2 separate regions of the Homo sapiens genome follow, and region 2 is linked to region 1. The links are contacts of gene promoters, found by promoter capture Hi-C in human tissues and cell types (Jung and others, 2019). All regions are on one chromosome and are shown on one strand. The core of a region is centred on a gene start or on the middle of the fragment in contact, and the rest is flanking DNA. Distances in the headings are between cores, read along the strand shown. Region 1 holds the start of SLC41A1 (solute carrier family 41 member 1). Region 2 holds the start of LOC124900423 (small nucleolar RNA SNORA72).

Evidence for each region. The method cuts DNA at HindIII sites, captures the fragments that hold promoters and counts their contacts. A contact is called where the count stands out against the background at its distance.
Region 2: a fragment that was not itself captured here is called in contact with the fragment with the promoter of SLC41A1 in region 1 in 3 of the 25 tissues and cell types used here (IMR-90 fibroblasts, adrenal gland and hippocampus).

The regions. Positions count from the first base shown.
Region 1 is chr1:205,811,103-205,815,488 of GRCh38, forward strand. It overlaps SLC41A1 (solute carrier family 41 member 1), which reads right to left and starts at 2,096. Exons shown (of 11, transcript NM_173854.6): 1 at 1,706-2,096. RefSeq lists silencers at 1,827-2,086, 2,227-2,456 and an enhancer at 1,890-2,390. The HindIII fragment of the contact is 10,091 bases long and covers 1-4,386 here.
Region 2 is chr1:205,729,536-205,733,921 of GRCh38, forward strand. NUCKS1 (nuclear casein kinase and cyclin dependent kinase substrate 1) reads right to left here. Exons shown (of 7, transcript NM_022731.5): 2 at 37-86. LOC124900423 (small nucleolar RNA SNORA72) reads right to left here and starts at 1,817; the gene lies at 1,686-1,817. The HindIII fragment of the contact is 6,338 bases long and covers 1-4,386 here.

The sequences.
Region 1 (4,386 bases), core at 846-3,345:
GAAAGAAAAGAAAAAGAACATTACACTATAGCAAAGGACAGCTTGTACTGGGAGAATTTCCCCCCAAGGAAGTTAGGAGTTCATCATATAGCTATAGAGTTTGCTATTTGCCTCCCTTTTTCCGCAAAAATTACTCAGTCCTGCACTGCTCCATCTGGAGGCTCAGCAGGAGCTATCCCCGCCATCCTCCCCACCAGCAACCCTCCTGAGGGATCACCACCGTGGTCACCAGCAATGAGATGTGACCAGCCTGGGATTGGGAAGATGCTGTGCAGAAGCCCTCTGCACTGTTTCCTCAGCAACTGGGGGTGGGTAGGTGTGTCCTCAGCAAGACCCCTTCTTGAATGCCCATTAAGAACCCTGCATTATTTAAGTGGGGTTCAGTTACAAATTCAGTCACAAACTCCCTGCCACACAGCCACCCCTGTATAAAGTGACTGCTTATCATCACAAGACAGCAACAGAAAGACAGCCACACAGGGCAAAGAAATAGGGAGAAACTGATTGCTGAGTGAAGTCCCCCAGACCCCAGATCGTTCTAGCTTCTGAGAAAACAAAACAAAGCTAGGAGGACTCCCTGGGCAGTGGGGCAAGCCTGCCAGACCAAGGCCAAGAGCCAGAGGCCTACCCACTCCTGCCCTTGAGAGTCAACAGTGTTACAAAGAGCTCAGACAGCTGACTCGGATCCAGGCCTCTGTCTCTCCCCGTCTCCCCCTGCTCTTGGCCCTGTGAGCTTGTCAGATAGGACAAGGGAGTTATCTCAGTTAGAAGGGACAGAGCATAAAACGATTGCTTATTACCCACGCATTTCAGTTAATTAGGCTCCTCCTGTTCCCCAGGGTTACTGAGAGTTGGATATAGTGGAATTCTTAGAAACAAAAACAAAAAAACAAAAGTAGCAATAAAAAAAACCCAAAACAAAAACCAAAGCACCGTAAGCCAATATGCACTTGCTCCAAATGCATCTCTTTAGCTGTAATGGCTCCACTTCTCTGCCTAAAGGAATCCCCAGGCTTCCTAATTCCTGATGGACTCCCATCCTATTCCATTTCACCAGAAGAGCTCTTATTCGTAAAAAATAAATTTAAAGAGAGTTCCACCAGGTAAGAGGAACAGGTCCTTAAGTATTCCAAACACACACAATTAGTCAAGTTCAGTTTAGGAAAGGAGGTATCAAACCCCAGGAACTGGCCCAGGAGAACTGTTTCCTCTATCAATTCAGTCACCCACCAGGACTCCCTTTTCCAATCTCCTTAAACACAGTACTGTGGTTCTTTCAAACTCCCTCACCAGAGATCCAGGAGGAAACCTCTGAGTCCAGTGCCCCTATGCCAGAAAAGTTTCTGAGTCCGCTAAAAGCTGACACCCCCGCCTCCCTCCTGTGTTCCTGGCAGGCCACTGAACCTGAGAGGGGGCTCCCAGGAGGGGAAGCCAGTCCTCCCTCACCACTCCCCCTGTAAAGAGACTTCAGACAGGCCTAAGGCCCTGGGACGAAAGAAGCAAAAGTGAACCAGGACGCCCTATCCCCTCCTCCCAGGCGGGGACAAAAAAGACCCATTTTAGTATCCCCAACCCCGAGGAGGGAGAGAAAGTAACTGGGTGGCCTCCTCAGTCTCTCCACCACTCAGATTCAGCAAATGCGCTGCGCGCCAGGACTGCCGCCCTCCACCACCCCCTCCCCGCCCCAGGACCCCACAGGACTGACCTGCCCCTCGCCTGGGAGGAAGGGGGGCGCCTGGCAAGTGGCAGCGTGGCCCGTGGTCTCGGGGGGTGCAGGGCACCCCCTCTTCTCATCACTCCTCCTCGACAGTCCTCCTTGGCCCCCGGCGTGCCCCCCCACACCCCCAGCCAAGGCGAGCGTCCAGCCGCGACACCCGGCTCGCTACATTTCGCTTCTGCGTTACAGCGAGGCCGCCGCTCCGCTTCCACGCGGGGGAGGTGGCCGGGGAGGGCAGGATATATCGCTTCGGGCCCGGCGGGGGGGCACCCGGACGGGGGACCGGGGAGCCGAGCTCACGCGCCCCCAATCGCTTCTTGCCCGCGGACTCGGGCCCAACTGGTTGGCTGCCGGTGGCAAACGTGATCTGGGGCAGACTGGGTGGCACCCCCCCCGCTCCATCAAAAATAGATTCTCGGATGGACAACAGCAGCAGCCAATCAGGGACTGGGGAGGGGGCGGGATCAACCTCGGCCCGGCCCCCTTCCTTCGCTTCGTGCCCAGGAGGCGGGGCGCCGGGGAAACGCAGTAGGAGGAGTGACGGGAACCGGGAGCCGGCTCCATGCGCCTGGAGCGCGCGGGTCCCAGCGCCCATCGGCCCGGGGTCCGAGGGGCCCGCTGCCCGGGCTCGCTGCGTGGTGCTACCGCCCCCGGGCCCGCTGCGCCGCGTCGGAGCCCCAGCAGACTTTGAGAGGCGTGTGCGACAGTGCGCGTCCTCTCCTGCCTCTGGATGTTTCCTTGGAGCCTCTGGCCTTCGGGAAGACCGGTAAACGTCCCTGTGGAGCCAGCCAGCCAGCCACCTCTGACCCCCGGGCTCAAGCAGCCAGCCGCGTGCTCCCTCCTCCCACTTGGTACCCGGACAGAACAGTCCCTACCTTGCTCTTCTCCCGCCGGCTCGTCACTTTAGGCTCCCTCCAGATTCCGCGTTCCTTGAGCAAATGGCTCACCCCTGACGAATCCGGCCTTAAAAAAGTCCCGGCCTTGAAAGGGGTGGAGACTGGCGGGCGGGAGCGAAAGGAGGTCAGACCCATGGCTGGGGTCGCACACGCATCACCTGAGGTCGGAGAGGAGGGGAGCCTCACTTCCTCTGACCCACTGAGCCTGGTGGCAGCGTGCGGAGAGATGTCACCATCCCGGACTAAATGAAATCCAACTTTCCCTGACGCACCTTGTGGGATCAAAGAGGGGTGTTCCCATGCTCACCTTTCGCCACTTCCTCCCTGGGGTATCTCCACCTCTCCAACACAAGCTCAATGCCAGTTCTCTTTGGGATGTTTTTGTGCAGGGGGTGTGACCTCCCTCATAAAGGAACCCCCACTCCCAAGTTTTCCCCTCTTGTCAGTGGAACCTGTGACCAACGGTTCCTTCCTGTCCTTTTCCTCCCTGAAAGTAGCCCGGGGGCATTCGAACATGGCTCTAGACCCCTGAATAGGGTTTGGAGCGGAGATGTGCCTGGGGAGAAGAGATCGCAGTGCTGTGTATGAAGCTTTGGGCACGTGCTCACAAGAGCACACACAGCAACCTGAGCAGGTCATTCCTTTTGATAAGGATGACAAATACACATACCAAACCCTGTTCCCCTCACCCACCCCAAACCAGTACCCCCAGGATGATTCCAGATCAGCTCTGGAGCATTTGCATCAAGGGCCTGCAGACTCACAGGACCTACTAGAGCAAAATATCAGTGTCTCAGACCCCAGTTTTGGCCTCAAATACTGGGTTTTTCTGCCAGGAGAAGTAGCTGCTAGTCTAGGAAATGCTGGGACTTGTCCAGAAAGATGAGGTTTGTGAATACGGGGTGTGGGGTTGGGTGGGGAATTAAGGCTGATGTATCTGGAGGAACTTTGGTTGGGCTGGAGGCAACTTCTGCCCTGTTCTATTCAACAGTTCCCTCCCCTCCACTACCCCATTTAATCTGGCCACAGCTCAGCTACCTGTGTATAAAATCTTGATCTCTCTCCTATTTCCTTTCTACCTTCCGTGTTTTTACTTACTCGAAAACTGTTCCCCTCTCCTGTGTGTATTTTTTTAATTGAAATATACCAGGCATTTAGGAAAGGAACACGAAACCTAAGTGTACAGGTCAACAAATGATGACACAGTGAACACCCCCATATGACCACCATCCAGATCTAGAACGAGATCATTATTGGCATCCCAGATACCCTCCTTCTATCCGCTCCTGGTGACTATGCCACACTCCTTCTCAAAAGTAACGTTTATCTAACACTACAGGTTAGTTTTGCTTACTTCTGAACTTTATATACATGGAACCATTCAGTAGGTATTATTTTGTGTCTGGCTTCTCTCACTCAATACTATGTTTATGAAACTCATCCAAAACATTGTGGTAGCAGTAGCTTATTTGTTTTCATTGCCGTACGGTATGCCATTAAATAAATATACCACAATTTATCTGTTATTCTGTTGACGGACATTTTGGTTGTTCCTACTTTGGGGTTATTATGAATAAGGCTGCGATAACGTTTTTGTTCATGTCCTTTGGTACACTTACGTTCATATTTATACTAGATATATACCTAGGAATAGAATTACTGGGTCATAAAAGGATATGCATATTTTTAGCTTTAGCAAATGCGACTAAACAATTTTTCAAAGTGCTCATATTAATTTACACTCCTGCCAGCAGCGTCTTAGTGTTCCAGTTG
Region 2 (4,386 bases), core at 775-3,274, 82 kb before region 1:
GTCCAACTTAAAATTTGTTGAAACCACAAAACTTACCTGCATCATCAGATTCCTGAAACTGTGAGTAATCAACAACCTTCCTATTTCTGTAGAAAGAAGAGACTCTAATTAAAATCATAAAACTGTAGGATTTTTCTAAGACATCAGAACACACATTTCTCTTTCATAAACAGAACTGAACTAGCACTTTGAAAATTATTTAATTGCTGGACGTGGTGGCTCACACCTGTAATCCCAGCACTTTGGGAGGCCAAGGCTGGTGGATCATCTGAGGTTGGGAGTTTGAGATCAGCCTAACCAACATAGAGAAACCTTGTCTCTACTAAAAACACAAAATTAGCCAAGCGTGGTGGTGCATGCCTGTAATCCCTGCTACTTGGGAAGCTGAGGTAGGAGAATCACTTGAACCCAGGGGTCAGAGGTTGTGGTGAGCCGAGATACCTCCATTGCACTCCAGCCTGGGCAACAAAAGTGAAACTCCATCTCAAAAAAAAAAAAGAAAAGAAAAAAAAAGAAAATTATTTAATTAATTTTTTGAGACAGGGTGTCACTCTGTCGCCTAGGCTGGAGAGCAGTGACACAATCATGGCTCACTGCAACCTTGACCTACTGGGCCCAAGTAATCCGCCTGCCTCAGCCTCCTGAGTAGCTGGGACTACAGACGCATGCTGGCTAATTTTTTTTCATTTTTTGTAGAGACAGGGTCTCCTGGTGTTGCCCAGGCTGGTCTCAAACTCCTGAGCTCAGGTAGTCATCCTGCCTCAGCCTCCCGAAGTGCTGGGATTACAGGCACGAGCCACTGCACCCAGCCAAAAATTATTTTTTAAAGGCCCCCACTTAAGCCTAAGTACTTAACATTCTGTTATAAGAAAGCATAGCATAAACCACAAGTATGTCAAGCTACAATTCTCATACTGCTCATCTCAGTGATAATTCAAATACCATTCTTTTCTCTCTCTTTTTTTTTTTTTGAGATGAAGTCTTGCCCTGTCGCCCAGGCTAGAGTGCAATGGCGAGATCTTGGCTCACTGCAACCTCTGCCTCCCAAGTTCAAGCGATTCTCCTGCTTCAGCCTCCCGAGTAGCTGAGATTACAGGCGTGTGCCACCACGCCTGGCTAATATTTGTATCTTTAGTAGAGACGGGGTTTCACCATGTTGGCCAGGCTGGTCTCCCCTGATCTCGTGATCCGCCCGTCTTGGCCTCCCAAAGTGCTGGGATTACAGGCGTGAGCCACCGTGCCCGGTCTCAAATACCATTCTTTTCTACAAAACAATCTCCCGTCTCTCAAAACAAATATACATAAAACAGCAAAATGAGCCAAATCACCATGTACCTATGTATTCATTATATACAAAGATGCCCTATTTATAAGCTAAAGTTGTAAATGATATTTTACTCTTACTGCTACACACATATATATGTATACTTGATAAACAAGGTTATTACTAAGCTTTTCAAGGCAAAAGCAATTTTTAGGTATAGTACAGTTACATTATAATGCACAAAAATTATGGTAATGTTAAGCTTTATACAGAAGGGGAAGGAAACAAATTAATTGGTCCAGTCAAAAGATGCTTTATTTAAAAAACTATGAAAGCCTCACAGATTTATGTACATCTATGTATTTGACTCTATTCTTTTGTTTCTAAACTTTTTTTTTCCTTTTCCAATTTTACAGACCTGGTTTATCAGCAACATTTATAAAACTAGACCTCAGGAAAGAACTAGTTCTGGGGATATATGCATGGTCTTAATAAAGTGAATGGTTAGCCTGTCCTGACTATTACAAAATCAAAACAGTGAGAATATCTGCAGAATCTATTTGACTCTAAATGACTTTAAGTACTCCCTATCAAGTAACGTATCTTTAACATCTCAAACAAATCTTCATTTCTATTTTTGTACTCTGCACTCTAAATCTAAAAGTTTAATACTTCTTCTCTAGAGATATACATGTAAGCTTCCATGTTAGTACCCAAACAGCCTACCTGGCAAAAGAGCCTTAGATTAAAAAATGCACTGTTACTGTAGGCCTAAATTGATCAAGTGAACTTAAAAAATTAAGAGAAATAGGCCAGGCGCAGTGGCTCACGCCTATAATTTCACCACTTTGGGAGGCCGAGGCGGGCAGATCACGAGGTCAGGAGATTGAGACCATCCTGGCCAACGTGGTGAAACCCCGTCTCCACTAAAAATACTAAAAAATTAGCTGGGTGTGGTGGCGGGCGCCTGTAGTCCCAGCTACTCGGGAGGCTGAGGCAGGAGAATGGCTTGAACCCGGGAGGCAGAGCTCGCAGTGAGTGAGCCAACATCACGCCACTGCACTCCAGCCTGGGCGAAAGAGAGAGACTCCGTCTCAAAAAAAAAAAAAAAATTTAAGATAAATATACATTACCACCTATACTTAAACCTGAGCAGAGGGATATTCTTGGCTGTATAGATTAAGACACCATTTAAATTCAAAGACAGGATGGTCAGACTGCAAACACTGGTCCACCTTCTAGTATAGTATGTGGAGATGGTATGGATGGAGGTGAATTCTGGAAAAAAAGGCTTGGGCTTATATGTAGAGGAATATATAGTTACATACTCAGCATTAGAAAGAGAAAAAACAAGGCTCTTAAGGAGTTCCACCTTCTGTTTTTCTTTAGTTTAACAAAACTATAAAATATACTCCAACTATATATTTTATTGTAAGAAGCTGAGTTTATATTACCAAAGATACTATATTATTAGGAAAGCTAACTTTAAATATGACTATTAATTCCATGTACATGAGGGACCTAGAGTAGATGAATTCAGAGAGACAGAAAGTAGAGTGGTGGTTGCCAGAGGCTGGAAGAGTGGGGATGAGGAGCTGTTGTTTAGTGGGTTTAGTTTCAGTTTTGCAAGATTAAGAGTTCTTTACAACAATGTCAAGTACTTAACAATACTGAACTATACACTTAAAAATGGTTAACATGGGCCGGGCACAGTGGCTCATGCCTGTAATCCCAGCACTTTGGGAGGCCAAGGTGGGCGGATCATGAGGTCAAAAGATCGAGACCATCCTGGCCAACATGGTGAAAACCCGTCTCTAGTAAAAGTACAAAAATTAGCTGGGCGTGGTGGTGCGTGCCTGTAGTGCCAGCTACTTGGGAGACTGATGCAGGAGAATTGCTTGAACCTGGGAGACAGAGGTTGCAGTGAGCAGGGATCGCACCACTGCACTCCAGCCTGGCAACAGAGCAAGACTCTGTCTCAAAAAAAAAAAAAAAAGTTAAGATGGTAAATTTTATGCTAAGCATATTTTATTACAATAAAAATATATTTTCTTTCTTAAAAATATGACTATGAAAAAATCTAATATTTTTGGGCTACTATGGAAATGCCTGCCATGTTCTGGCAAAACAGTGATTTTTTAATGACAAATGCCATGAAAAATAGTATGATGATCATAATGCAAACACGACCATTTTCTGTATTATTTAGGATAAAAAAAATGGGTCATAGAACCAGGGGAAGAAAGGTATCTAGAAGAGGAACTCTTACATCTTATCCTCTAATAATTAAAATACAGGTTCCGAACTTGTAGGTATAATTCTAGCTTATCCCATGCTTGTGGGGTGGCAACTAACATATTATTACCCCATTTCTGGGTACGACGTAGCAATGGATATATCCTATGAAACTACATAAGGATGGACAACCAGAATGGTAAACGGTATATCATATGAAGAACAAATGAATAAATTGAGAATATTTAACTTGTAAAATGGGAAAACATGTTAGCTACTTTAGGGCTTTGATGTGAAAGGAGTAGTAGAGGTACAGCTTAGCTTTAGCAATCACATTAAGTGTAGGTTCAACATAAAGAGCTTTAACTGTCTGCTAACAATGGCTACTTCCTTACTCTATCACTAGAAACACTCAAGAAAGGAATTAGTATGGACTCTTTGTACTAGGAATCCTGGGTTCTGGTTCTAGAATGTCAAGAAAATCATGTAATTTCTCTGGGCCTTAGTTCTTCCTCTGTTGGAACTGATAACCTAAATTGCTTGACAGATCTAAAAGATATTCTATAAAATTAAATGTTTAAATAATAAATTAAATAATAAATAAAATATTTAATAAATAACATAAATGGCAGGCATTATATTAAAATATAATATAGAAAATGGTCACTGCAAATGATCATATTGCATTATGATCACAATACTGTTTTTCATGGCATTTGTCATTAAAAATTAACTGCCCTCCACAACAGAAGAAAACTTAATCTCCTCCTCCTTCCCTGTATATCTATCTGTATCTATCTAGACAGACCTACCTACCTATCTTCCATCTGTCCGTCCACCCATCCATCCATCCAACAATTGAGACAGGGTCTTGTTCTGTCATCCAG